2 separate regions of the Homo sapiens genome follow, and region 2 is linked to region 1. The links are contacts of gene promoters, found by promoter capture Hi-C in blood cells and fetal thymus (Javierre and others, 2016). All regions are on one chromosome and are shown on one strand. Each heading gives the region's core, a stretch centred on a gene start or on the middle of the fragment in contact. The rest is flanking DNA. Distances are from core to core; before and after follow the strand shown.

What was found. Contacts are between HindIII fragments. The CHiCAGO score rates a contact against its expected background, and 5 or more counts as called.
Region 2: a fragment that was not itself captured here is called in contact with the fragment with the promoter of USP16 in region 1 in 1 of 17 cell types (total CD8 T cells); the score reaches 6.0 in total CD8 T cells.

Annotation. Positions count from the first base shown.
Region 1 is chr21:29,023,414-29,026,199 of GRCh38, forward strand. USP16 (ubiquitin specific peptidase 16) reads left to right here and starts at 1,255. Exons shown (of 18, transcript NM_006447.3): 1 at 1,255-1,364. RefSeq lists an enhancer at 1,131-1,520. The HindIII fragment of the contact is 4,939 bases long and covers 1-2,786 here.
Region 2 is chr21:28,885,576-28,888,275 of GRCh38, forward strand. It overlaps the pseudogene HSPD1P7. Among named protein-coding and RNA genes, the nearest start is that of HEMK2, 1.6 kb to the left of the region's middle. RefSeq lists an enhancer at 1-209. The HindIII fragment of the contact is 2,444 bases long and covers 168-2,611 here.

The DNA.
Region 1 (2,786 bases), core at 5-2,504:
TATGACCAATTGTTCTTTTATGGTGAATTACCTGTTTACATATCTATTTTTCTATAGCTATCTGCAACTCCCCCGACCCCCACGGTAGCGATTACTATCTTCTCTACTAAACTAAGACTCCAGGGCAGAGAGGCCTATGTTTAATTCATTTGAGGAAAGGCTTGGCACAAAGTGTGCACTTACATATTTTCTTTTTTTCTTTTTGAGAGGGAGTTTTGCTCTTGTTGCCCAGGCTGGAGTGCAATGGAGTGATCTTGGCTCATTGCAACCTCTGCCTCCAGACTTCAAGCGATTCTCCCCCTTAGCCTCCCGAATAGCTGGGATTACAGGCGCCCGCCACCACGACCGACTAATTTTTTGTATTTTTAGTAGAGACGGGATTTCACCACGTTGGCCAGGCTGGTCTCGAACTCCTGACCTCACGTGATCCACCCGCCTCGGCCTCCCAGTGTTGGGATTACAGGGGTGAGCCACCGCGCCAGGGCTCGCACTTACAAATTTTCAAAGAATGGACAGTAAATATTTGAAAATCCCCTCCTCCCCCGCAATTTATCTGACACCGTCTTTCGGTTTTGCTTTAAAAATTCACTCTCGCGGCCGGGCGCGGTGGCTCACGCCTGTAATCCCAGCACGTTGGGAGGCCGAGGCGGGCGCATCACAAGGTCAGGAGTTGGAGACCAGCCTGGCCAATTGGTGAAACCCCGTCTCTACTAAAAATACAAAAATTTTAGCTGGGCGTGGTGCCGTGCGCCTGTAGTCCCAGCTACTCGGGAGGCTGAGGCAGAAGAATGCACTCCAGCCTGGGCGACAGAGGGATATTCCGTCTCAAACAAACAAAAAATCACTCGCTGCGTTTTTTATTCTGACATGGTGCAGGAAGGTAAATTCAAGACAACTTAGGTACTCAGTTTTAGAAGTCGACAGGACAGAATTACGGAAACAAATTTAAGCGTTCCCCCTTTTAGCTCCAAATATAATGTGTTCCAGAAAGGTAACCATCTAGGAAACTCCAAGGCTCAGACCACCACCGGATGCCCACACTTCAGGAGCATTTATATAACTTCGTGGTTATGTCAGAGACGAGAAAACCCATTGACAACCAAACCCCTAAACCCGAACATCCGGCGCAAGCCGCACGCAGGCGCAGATTTACTAGCGTCAGAGCCGATGGTCCCGGGAGGTGGGGGTGGGGTGGTGGTGGCCTAGCCACTTCCCATAATGCCGCGTTCCGGAAGTTATTGCTTTCCAGGGGTCACTCTGGCTTCGACTCCGTCGCTCTCAATTCGTCACCAGGAGGAAGACGGAGCTGGCTGCCCAGCCCAAAGGCCCATGAGGGGATGCAGTTATGGGCTCTGTCGCCGTGGGTGAGTTCTGGTCCCACTGCCTGGCAGTCGTCGCTCGCCTGGCTTTCTGCGCTGGGAGAGCTCCTGTTTTCCGCCCCAACTTCGTTCTCTTCTTGAAGGCCGCTCTCCTTAAGCACGTAACCCGGCTACTTTCCGGTACTGCGATCTCATTGGCTGCATGTTCTGTCAGTTCCAGAAGCTGGCCAATGAGATGCCGCTGCTGGCGGCCTTCTCGACCCCGTGGACCCAGAGGTTCCCCCGTGGGATCGGAGCAGTTAGAAGGGGAGGAGAGGGAAGGTGTGGCAGGCGCCGAGCAAATGGGTGGGTGGCGCGTGGCAGGGACTTCCCTATGGGTTGGAGCTGGATTTGCAGCCGTGTTCATACGGCTGGTAGGAAAAGCAGGATCTGTCACTTATCCAATTGACTATATCTAGGAGGGGATTGATATACGCAAAACTTGAAAGCCACGTTAACACCTGCTGACAAAGTTTTCCACACGCTTACATTTTTAATGGAACCGAGTAGGCAGGGGAAGACTGGGAGGGCAGAGAGTGAAGAGACTTGGAATAATATGAGAACCGGCAAGACTATCTTTGATTTAGATTTTGTATGGAGTCCTGCGAAGAGTCATTTCACTAAGACGTTAATGCTCATCCGATGACACTACTTGAAAAGTGTATTAAGTTTATTGATGTTTTATAGCTGATGGAAGTCACAATATGCTCTCCTCATGACTCATTAGTTGCCTTTATAGTTGTCAGAACTTTACTGAGGCTCTTTCCGCAGCACTGGAGTGACCCCTCTGTCCTCTGCCTGCAGTAATTAACAATTCGTCTTTCAAGTTTTCCTATGGAGTCTAAGCTGCTGCAATCCTCAAACCAGATTTACTAGTGCTGTCTTCACTACTGCAGACTTCTGACTTCTCATTTTTCACCCTTTTCTTTTTCACCAGAACTTGTTTGCTTCATTCTTATGTACCTACCTTTGCACCTTGTAATCATCCTTTATGCCTCAGGTACTATTCTATTTTTCTATTTCAATGCAAGAAGTATTTCTTCAGGACCTGCTATGTACTAACATTATGCTAGATATTATAGGCAGTTCCAAAACTGTGCTTGAAACCATTTATTTTTCTAAGAACTTTAGATTCTGCTTACAGAAATAACATAAACCCAGATTAAAGATTTAAGAAATTCACTAGAATATGGGATAAGGGGACAAGATGACTAGAGCATACCATAAATACTGGGGAAGTTCAGTGGAGAGGTTTATTTAGAGTAGAATGATTGTCTAAGGCTTCCTTGAAATGGAGAGCTTCCAAGATTGGTAAGATTTAGATAGAATATTACAGCTAGAAATCAAAGACATCAAGGCGGGGAGGGTACAAAGTGTTTTGGAGTGGAGTACAAGAGAAGGACTTGGCCAGGTGCTGTGGCTCACGCC
Region 2 (2,700 bases), core at 140-2,639, 140 kb before region 1:
ATTCTGTGAACTAGAACCTGATAGTGGGCATTCTGAGTTGTTTTTGACTAAGGTGAATGTTCTTTCTTCATTCTAATGATATTTGGAAATTCTGTTTTATTCCTAGTTTGCAAGGATTTGAAAAAATACATAATAAATTTTACTGTTTTTTTGTCAGCTGAACTTTAAGCTTTACGCTATAAAGATGAAGACTTTCCTCGTTTTTTTACTGTACTTTATAAATTGCCTTCCTGATGAATCATGAATGCACTCTTTTTATAAACCTTAAGCAAGATGATGCGGTTTAATACACTGCTGAATTGGGGAGGCTAATAATCTGGCTCCGTTTTTTTTTACCAAGATTACGCTACCCTCGTTATGTGAGTTAGGACACTGTTTCTGGAACATTAGGTAGAAAGCCTTAAAACTGGCTGGGCTTGGTGCCTTTTTGAGTGAATGGATCTTTGATGTTTTGGAACATCTGTAAGTTATTAGACTATTCAAGTATTTGCATTCTTTTTGAGTCAATTTCTGAAATTTGTTTCGCAATGAAACATTTTTACAGCTCGTTTTTTAAATTTGAGAAATAAAAATACAGAAAAGTATTTGAGGTACAAATTTTATTTTATTTTATTTCTACTTATGTATTTTTTTTTTTTGGAGACAGAGTCTCGCTGTATCCCCCAGGCTGGAGTGCAGTGGCGCGAGCTAGGCTCACTGCAACCTCTGCCTCCCAGGTTCAAGCGGTTCTCCTGCCTCAGCCTCCGGAGTAGCTGGGATTACAGGCGCCTGCAGCCACGGCTGCCTAATTTTTGTATTTTTAGTAGAGACGGATTTTCCCCATGTTGGCCAGGCTGGTCTCAAACTGCTGACTTCAGGTGATCCACCCGCCTTGGGCTCTCAAAGTGCTGAGATTACAGGTGTGAGCCTTTAACGCACCCGGCTGGGTTACAAATTTCAAAACCCCAAGTTTTAAACCCAGAAATGACAGTATTTTCTCATGTTTCCTTAAAATATTTTTTAAATACAAGAACTAAAATATTACAAATAAGATGGATGTTCTTTCTCTATTTGCCTTCAGTTTAATTGTGTAACATTCTCTCCAAGGCTCTTATGGATTTAGTGTATGTCCATCTAATCCATGTAAAAACATGGATCTTGTATTTATACGTTTATAAACATTCATATCTTTATAAGCAACATACGGTGTATTTTAAAATTTACATAACTGGTACTAGGTTGGACATATTTTTCAAATTTCTTTTTCAGTCAACATTATATGAGATTTATGTTTTGATATATGGTTAGGTTACTCCTCTTAACTGCCATATAGAATTTTATTATGTAAAAATATGAAAAATATATATATATAGAAAGAGTTGTACTTGATCTCCTGGGTTCAAGCGATCCTCCTCCCTCAGCCTCCTGAGTAGCTGGAACTGGAACCATAGGTGCTCTCGCACCCAGTATTAGGAATATACAAATGTCTTTTTATCCAAAAATACAAAATAAATTATCTGTAGGCATGGACAGTGACAGCAGTAAAACATTATATATTTTGTCACTTGAAACCAGTAACTGATTGTTATAGTGATTTCCTAAACATCTGCTAGCCTTTTCTTCAGTCGTTTTCTCCAGCTGACTTCTCTGAAGTTATTGGTGAGGAATACTGCCTTGGGCTTCCTGCCACAGTTCATTAATTAAAGTAAAACGCTATTCTAATCATTAGAACTTGCCATTTCCCATAACACCTCCCGTTCCACCCATTGCACCCAATACAGGGTCCTTCTCTTTTTTTAGGAATTTCTTTGACTACAACTTCTGCTGTAGTTAACAGGCCACCCCAGCAGCATCCAGTAAAGCACTTCTCACAACCTTTGTTTTGTCAATAATTCCTTTTTTCCACCATATTCACAAAATCTGACCGTGGCATCACAACCAGCTTCTCAGGAACTGCATAATTTTCTGGACTATCAAAGATCCTTCAACACCCGCATTTTTAGCAATAGTCATTGCAGGAATTTTGAGTGTTTTCTTAATAGTTTCTGTACCAATTTTTTGATCTTCATTAGCTGGAGTCAATGAGTCCAAGGCACCAATTCATCGAAGTAGGGTACAACCCCCTCCCAGAACAATGCCTTCTTCAACAGCAGCTCTTGTAGCATTAAGGGCATCTGTAACTCTGTTTTTCTTTTCATTCACTTCAACGTGACTTGTCCCACTAACCTTCAGCACAGCTACTCCATCTGAAAGTTTTGCCAGCTGTTCATTCAGTTTTTCCTTTTCATATTCACTAGTTGTGACATCCAACTGCTCAATGATTTCTTGAATACGTTTTTAAATTTGAGCCTTGTCACCTTTTCCTTTTAAGAGCATAGCATCATCTTTGATCACAGTGACCTCTCCAACTTCTCCTAAGTCATGAGGCTGAACATCTTCAAGATTTGAGGTCAACTCCTCTTCTCCAAACACTGCACCACCAGTAGCAATTGTCATACCTTTAAGGTGGTTCTTTCTATTGTCACCAAACCCTGGAGCTTTGACTGCTACAACCTGAAGACCAAGTTTTCGCCTATTCAAAATGAGTGTACTTAGAGTTTCTCCATCAACATTTTCAGCAATTATGACCAAAAGCTTACGGTGAGCATTGGCAATTTCAAGATCAGGTACAATGGACTGGACACTAGAAATTTTCTTGGAATTCACATTTCCGACCTTTTG